Linked DNA regions of Homo sapiens: all the other regions are linked to region 2. The links are contacts of gene promoters, found by promoter capture Hi-C in human tissues and cell types (Jung and others, 2019). All regions are on one chromosome and are shown on one strand. Each heading gives the region's core, a stretch centred on a gene start or on the middle of the fragment in contact. The rest is flanking DNA. Distances are from core to core; before and after follow the strand shown. Region 1 overlaps MRTFA (myocardin related transcription factor A). Region 2 holds the start of DNAL4 (dynein axonemal light chain 4). Region 3 has its middle 11 kb from the start of TNRC6B-DT.

What was found. The method cuts DNA at HindIII sites, captures the fragments that hold promoters and counts their contacts. A contact is called where the count stands out against the background at its distance.
Region 1: a fragment that was not itself captured here is called in contact with the fragment with the promoter of DNAL4 in region 2 in 1 of the 25 tissues and cell types used here (aorta).
Region 3: a contact is called between a fragment that was not itself captured here and the fragment with the promoter of DNAL4 in region 2, in 1 of the 25 tissues and cell types used here (spleen).

Annotation. Positions count from the first base shown.
Region 1 is chr22:40,530,091-40,532,790 of GRCh38, forward strand. The region is part of intron 3 of MRTFA (myocardin related transcription factor A); the gene reads right to left. Among named protein-coding and RNA genes, the nearest start is that of MRTFA-AS1, 9.6 kb to the left of the region's middle. The HindIII fragment of the contact is 3,323 bases long and covers 1-2,700 here.
Region 2 is chr22:38,792,837-38,795,536 of GRCh38, forward strand. DNAL4 (dynein axonemal light chain 4) reads right to left here and starts at 1,307. Exons shown (of 4, transcript NM_005740.3): 1 at 1,232-1,307. RefSeq lists a silencer at 1,049-1,498. The HindIII fragment of the contact is 13,707 bases long and covers 1-2,700 here.
Region 3 is chr22:40,054,567-40,057,266 of GRCh38, forward strand. It overlaps a transcript of TNRC6B not described here. Among named protein-coding and RNA genes, the nearest start is that of TNRC6B-DT, 11 kb to the left of the region's middle. The HindIII fragment of the contact is 4,520 bases long and covers 1-2,700 here.

The DNA.
Region 1 (2,700 bases), core at 168-2,667, 1.7 Mb after region 2:
TTCTGTCCTGCTGTTGTTATAACTAAGAGGACTGCACTAGATGGATACACCTTAGGGCCTGTCTAGTCAAAGCCTTACACATTAGCTGTCAAGAGCCAAGTCCTAGCATTTCTCCATTCTAAAACACACCAGAGTCAGTACCATGCCCCAATATTCCCTAAGACTTAGCTTCTGAAATTCCATAATGTCCATCTTATTTGTTTTGTTGTTTTTGTTTTTGTTTTGAGGCAGGGTCTCGCTCTGTCGCCCAGGCTGGAGTGCAGTGGCACAATCTCAGCTCACTGCAGCCTCTGCCTCCCAGGTTCAAGCAATTCTCCTGCCTCAGCCCCCCAAGTAGCTGGGACTACAGACATGCACCACCACACCTGGCTAATTTCTGTATTTTTAGTAGAGATGGGGTTTCACCATGTTGGCCAGGCTTGTCTTGAACTCCTGACCTCAAATGATCCACCTGCCTCGGCTTCCTAAAGTGCTGGGATTACAGGCGTGCGCCACCGCGCCCGGCCCCATAATGTCCATCTTAGATCATTAATTATCTAAACAAAATGATTCAGATATGTTTCCATAGTAGTGAGAAAAGCTCTAACTGTGGTTTGATTAGAACACTTAGATTCAGCAATAAACATCACAGGCAGACATGACATACTGCACATTCTGAGATGCAGAAGAATTCCAACTTTGAAAGCTATTTTTCAACAACATCTGCTTTGGACAAGGATTGGCTAAAATACAGGATGGTGGGTAGAAGATTCATTTCTTAATATAAGAACAGATCTCAAAATACTTCGATAAAATCTTGATTTAAAAGCTTATACTTATCAGGGAAAGTATGACAATCCAAATTTCATCACTCTCATTCATTCAAAAATACTAAGTACCATGTGCCAGTATCAGAAGCCAATATATAGATTAATATATTGCCCTTGAGAAGCTAATAATCTAATTAGGAAGACATATACATCTGGCTGGTTCCAAAGGACCAGTAAGAGACCACCAGCAGTGAGGAGGATGAAAGTTTTATTTTTTGAGACAGAATCTTGCTCTGTCGCCCCAGTTGGAGTAGAATGGCATGATCATAGCTTGTTGCAGCCTCGACCTCCTGGGCTCAATCGATCCTCCCACCTCAGCTTCCCAAGTAGCTCTGACTACAGGTGGGCACCATCATACCTGGCTTTTTTTTTTTTTTTTTTTTTTTAATTTTTTGTAGAGATGGGTCTTGAACTCTTGGGCTTAAGCGATCCTCCTGCCTCAGCCTCCTGAAGTGTTGGGATTACAGGTGTGAGCCACCATGCCAGGCCTGAAAGTTTGTATATAACATACATGAACATGTCTCACCAAAACCCCCAAGCTCCAAATATTCAAATGAAAATTGTTCATAAATATAAAACATACCCTGGAACTTTGCTATCATATTCAATATCCTGAAGTTTTATTTAGGGTAAAACTTTCCATCCTGAATTCTGTCAACAAGGTTTAGTTACTTTAAAACTCTCATTAAATAGCAGTCTCACCTATAAAGCATATATTCATATAGGTTAAAATATTCTATTGCTAGAAAACCTATGGCTCATGTTTATCTACTGATAAAGCCCAAAAGTCTTGACTTTTCAGAGAATGGCTTTTAGTTCACTGAGGCTTCATAACAGATGCTTTTTCATTTCCTATCATAAAGAGAGACAGTATTTTACTATACAGCTGTCATATTACTGTTACAATCCAGCTAATGGCTACAGCACTTCAGAACAAAACAGTAGCAATTTTACAAAACCAACACATTGTTAATGTTTTTGATCATATAGGAGACAGGTACTGGAGATATCAGTTTGCTATTACCCTTTCTATATCCAGAGTCTCTCCACTTTTACGAACATAAACAAAAGAAAGAAGTCCACATACACGCTACAGCAGACCCTTCATTCTACCTGCATCCAACACTCTTGTCAATTTCATTTCACCTACTATCATCCTTTGAAAGTTTTATGAAGTAGCTGGTCCAACAGATGGGTGGCTAGCCCTGCCCAACACATGACGAAGGAAAAACAGCTCTTAGCAAGCAAGACAAGAAAATATTAAGTATGTCCCTTTCCCTCTCAAGGCTGAGAACACTGAGACTACCTGAGAAGAAAGCAAACAATCTTTTAACCTTTATAAAGAAAAGTTACTGGACTGAGATGATCTGTAAGTAACAAGGTGATTTTAAAAAGGGAGAGAGTTCAAATGCTAAAATCTACCCCTCAAGATAAAACAGGCACTTGCCCACACATAGCAGAGAACTGGAATAGACAGGAAAAATAAATAAATCCAAATTAGTTTAACTGGGAGCTTTTTCATCAAAGACAGATGGGAAACATTCAGATAAGCACACTATCTTGTTTAGAACACAAAGCTCAATAGATCTGTAGGAGGAAAAGGAAAGGCAACCTGAAACACATAGCCTATATGCATAAAAAATGACTCATTATGGTCATATTAGTAAAACCAGAAAGAACAAAATGGTAGTGGTATCTGTCTTCTTTGCCCCTTCCCTGATCATAAGCTTTATTAACCAGATAGCATCTGATCCTGTCTTCAACTGATGTATATCTGTCTTTCAACATACTACCTAAAATGCTCCCCAAGGAAAACAGTGAGACCAATTCTGCCAGAGACAGTATCTGCCAGAACCAAGAAGTCTTATTTTCCTTTGAGTGAAAGCCAGTG
Region 2 (2,700 bases), core at 57-2,556:
AGGAGGAGTGTACACTGTAAAATAACAATAAAAGTGTAGGATAGTAAACACATAAACAAGTAACAGTCATTTATTACCATTATCAAGTATGATGTCCTGTACACAATTGTATGTGCTATATTTTATATGACTGGCAGCACTGTAGGTTTGCTTACACCAGCATCACCACACACGTGAGTCATGCATTTTGCTTTGACATTACGATAGCTATGTAACTAGGTGATAGAAATTTGTCAGCTCCATTATAACCTTAGGGCACCACCGTGGTATCTGTGGTCTTTCTTGACCAAAACGTTGTTATATGGTACATGACTGTATTTCAATCTCCATCTGTCCCCTCCCCACCCCTAAGTAACCCTAACCATGGAAGCCCAGGAGGAAGATCAGAGAGGGTCAACTGGAGAAATGACAGTTCATGCTGACCGGGTTGATAACATTTCCCAGAGAGGGAAAATGTGGTGAAGAGACAAAGGAAAGAAACTAACAAATACTGAATCTATACTGGACTGGACTCTGTACTTCATATTAGCCTCAGAATTACCAAAGGAGATGCACCGACGTATACTGATTTTACATATGCACTGATTAAAAGCGCAGGGAGGGTAGGTCTTGAGACTGGGAATCCAAATTAGGTTTGCCAAGTTATTTTCACAATACACGATACCTCCCATTGGGGAGCACATCCTCTCGGAAGCCTAAAGTTGGGTCAAAGAACAACGACATCCTAGAACGTCAGAGTGGAAGAGGCCTTAGAGATCACTCAACTCAACTTCTCATTTACAGATGGGGAAACTGAGGCCCAAACAGGGGAAATGACCAGCCCAGAATCCCAGTAAGTCGCCAACTCTCCAAGCCAAGAGCGGTCTGACCTAGTTGATGGCGACCCCGCGGGAGAGGGAATTACTCCGCGAAAGGTCGAGGGATCAAGGTGCTGGGGGAAGTCGGCTAAAGGGGGACGCGGGACCACGAAGCTGGGCAGGCCTTGGGTGGGTGGGGAAGAGCAGCCGGCAGAGTCGCGATGGCAAACCTGTCACGACAGAGCTCGCAGGTCCCGAAGTGGGGGTGAGGGTGGGGGTTGAGGATGGGAAGACCTGGGGCAGGGGAACAGCAGGCAGGAGACCGAGGTGGGGCCTCGGCGGCGGGCGAGGCCTCTTCCGCCCTGCGTTGCCTCCCGCCCTCCCTCCGGGCCGGCCCTCCCCGCCTGGCTGCCCGCCGCGCCCCGGGGCCTCACCTGCTCCTGCGGGGGCCGGAGCCGGGGCCGCAGCCAGCGAACCCCCGCCAGGGTTGTCAAGGAGCGAAACAAGAGTGTCTTAGCAACCAGCAAGGAAGTCCTGCCCCCTCACCGGACGTTGACGAGAATTTCACTTATTATTGGTGGATAAAAGTATCAATCAGAGTGAAAGGCCCTTATAAGTCAGGCGTTTGCAAGGACAGGGGCGTGGTTTAGAGGCCAGGGAGGCGGGACTTCACTTATAGTTGTCTTAAGCGTGCCCGAGGAGCAGGGGACACATTGAAGTTCTTTTTCTAGGGAAACAAACTTCGAAAAGCAGTACTGCCTTGGGAGGTTCTTTTAGTCACTTGAAATAACAAATGCAACTTGTTGGTGTCGTGACACTTAGCCACTACTTTATTGGGATCTGAAAAGCCTGATAATAACTAGCATTTTTGTAGGGCTGTACAATTAATATCTCACTTGATTCTCATTACAGTACTTTTAGGTGATAATATTCGTCATCCCATCTGAACTAAAGTTCAGAGAGGTTAAGTAACTTGGTAAAGGATGGAGGTAATCTCCCTGGAGAAGGAACCCAGGGGCTCCTTCCTCTGTGCCACACCCTTGTATGGTCACCTAGCTCTAGTCACTAGGAGACATTTGTACCACCTAATTTCAGACACAGTTGCCCAGAGCCTGCCTTTTCTTCCCCTTGGGAGGGAAAATTAATCCGAAAGTACGGAGAAGGAAAAGGGGAAAGGGGAAGAACTGGCGGATTCTATTATTTGATTGGTAGATCAAAGGGTCAGTTGGGTACTTCGTAGTTTAAACCTTTATTATTGTGATGAGTACTTGGGGTGAAACCCCACTGCCACATTTACTAGCATTGAAGCTGTCTTTGCCAAAATTATAACTGAGGAAATTATGACAGTGAAAGAGATCAGACCTAACCCACTCCATCTTGCCTTTCTAGCCTTTAAGCTGTCTTTGTTCATTCCTAGGCATAGGCTGAACGAACCTTGGGAAGGAATTTAGTTTATAGTTTTACTCTGAAACAAAATTGACAATAGCCCTTTCCCAAAAAGGCTCCCTTCCTGCCTTGGGACCAGTCTGCCTTTGTAGGACTAACAAATTAGCTACAACATTAGAAATTATGGTTTAGGGGTCACACAGCAGCCTCTGGCTGCAAGAGTCTGAACCTTCCCAAATTGCTCCTGGGGATAACATCACTATTGTAAAACCTAAGATCAGCGCTTGAGATATTTTGCAGACCCTGCGCTCGATGGATCAGCTGACACCACCCAGACCAGTAATGTGGCTCAAACAGTTCTGTGATCCCACCCAGGAACAGAAGACAGCAAGAAAACCTCACTTCGACCCCCTCAGTATTCCATCTTCGACTTAATCAATCAACACTCCTCGCTTGCCAAGCCCCTACCCACAAAATTATCTTTAAAACCTCTGATCCCTGAATGCTTGGGTAGCAT
Region 3 (2,700 bases), core at 151-2,650, 1.3 Mb after region 2:
ATTTAATTTGTATATTATATTTCCCCTTCTGGAAAATAGCTACATGAATAAAAATACTCTGTTTTATTCACATTTGTGTCACCAACATCTAGCACTGTGAGTTGCACATAGTAGGTCCTCAATAAATATTTTTTCAAATGAAGTTAAGAAAGAGAATTTAAAATAGAATTTCTAAAAAACCTCATTTTAGGCAAAGCTTGGTGGCTCATGCATGTAATGCCAGCACTTTGGGAGGCCAAGGCAGGCAGGTCACTTGAGTCCAGGAGTTCGAGACCAGCCTGGGTGACATGGTGAAACCCATCTCTACAAAAAAAAAAAAAATTAGCTGGTTGTAGTAGTGCGCGCCAGTAGTCCCAGCTACTCGGGAGGCTGATACAGGAAGGTTGCTTGAGCCCGGGAGGCAGAGGTTGCAGTGAGCTGAGATTGCACCATTAAGCTCCAGCCTGGGTGACAGAACAAGACTCCGTCTCCAAAAAAAGAAAAGAAATTATGCTTGGGCTTGACATGATGACGCTCTCACTAAACATTTGAATGCATAGACATGCTGAATGCTGTGCTAGGAGCCAGGACTACAGAGGTGGGGCGAAAGGAGATCTTTGTTCCCAAGGAATGCACAGCCAGGTGGGTGAGACAGATGTGGACACAGATGAGTGCCATTTAGTGTAATAAGTGCTGTAATAGACAGTACAAGAGGTGCTGCGGGGATGAAAAGGAAGGTCATCAACACGATGGGGAGGTTGAGAAAGCCTTCCCAGGGAAGGTGACACTCACACTAAGTTGTGGAGGAAAAGGGCATTTCCGGCAGAGAGAACAGCCTGTGTAGAGGCATGGGGGAGCGTTTTTAGTATGTGGAGAAGATGACCGGCACAGCGGTATGCTTTACAAGGCTGGCATTAGGGTACAGGGCTAATAGCTGACTTACAGTTGAACCATGATATGTCAGACTCAGCCTCTTACTCCACTGCAGTTTAGGACAGGAAATGACCTTAGAATAATGATCTGAATCTGTATGTTTGAATTCATAAAGGCATAGAGTACCATTCAGAGAAGATAATCATAAACCACAACGGCACTTGTCACTTCTAGTTAATATACTTGCTTCAGTGGTGTACCTATAACCATGCAAATGATGTTAGGTGGAATTAGAAAGTGGTGACTCATTTAAGCTTATCTGTAGGAGCAGAGAGTGTAAAGGAAGTGACTTCTAGATCACCTGAGGTGAGTGCTGATACCATCTCAAATGGATCAGACACTGAACCAGTGAAAGAGAGGAAATCAGAAAAGAGGACTACCCAGAAGGGCCTCTGGTATATGTTCTGGGAAAGACAGTTCCTACAGCTTGAAGGTCTTTACATATCTCCAAGTCTCCAAGTGGTTCACTGAGCTAACATTAATCTAATTTAATTCTCAACCAGATTTGAAAAAGGGAGATTAATTGGATAAAAATGTAGCCCATTTTCCTTCATTTACTCCTATTTGTTTTCAATGTCTCTTTCCTTTTCTGTCTCCTCCTATCCATTTTTCTCTCCCTGTTACTCTTAAGTAGTGTCTCCTTTCCCCATCCACCCCATCTCTAGCCATCTTCCATTCTATTTCCGCTAAGTTGCTTTCAGTTGCAGGATGTCCATACCTTGTTGGCTAAACTAATGTTTCTCAGCTTTGCATATTCAGAGCTTGATATTTTTCAAATGGGAAGAAGTGATTATGCTCTGGTAGTGCTGATTACACTCACAAGATGTTAATTGACTTACGGTAATGCCGATTTCTGCAAGTTCTGTGTATGTATTTGATCTACATAACAAAGGGCTAAGGAGCTAAGTGATGATAGGGAGAATGGTAGTAATGAATGCAGTTTAGTTTAAGATGTTTGGAAGAGAAAGGACAGAGAAAAATGGAAGCAGGACGAGGTTGAGAAGGCAACACCTTTAAGTAAGATAGAAAATCAGGCTGGGTGCAGTGGCTCATGCCTGTAATCCCAGCACTTTGGGAAGCCAGAGTAAGAGGATCACTTGAGGCCAGGAGTTCGAGACCAGCTTGAGCAACATAGTGAGACCCCCATCTCTACAAAAAATGTTTTAAACATCAACTGAGCATGATGGCACATGCCTGTAGTCCTAGCTACTCAAAAGGCTGAGGCAGGAGGATTGCATGAGCCCAGGAGTTGGAGGCTGCGGTGAGCTAGGATTGCATCACTACACTCCAGCCTGAGAGACAGAGTGACACCCTGTCTCAAAAAAAAAAAAAAAAAGAAAGAAAAATCTATAATCTATTAAAAGATATACAGGAAGCACCCAGCGGAGAAAGAAAAATGGAAGTTGCTTGAATAGAGATGGTAGCAGATTTGATGGGGCAAGGCCACCAGATTCCTCCCATGGGCACAGGTAGACTATATTCATTGGAAGTTCCTTGTAGTATCTCAACAGAGTAAGAAGTCGTCATGGGTTCTCATCTTGGATACCTTGAGCTCAAAATGAGTTTATGCTACTTTGTTTTGTCATGGCACCCACTAGAATGGTTTGCACATAGTAGGTGTAAACAGTCGAGATAAAGTCACAGGATTGAAAGATGATACTGATTATACCTTTAAACTTCTTACCAGGTAACACTATCTGTGGTTTATGACAAGGGAACATGTTTATTAATCCTCTTGTGAATAGTACAGTTACATTGAATTTTTTTCCTAAAGGTGTTGATTTATTA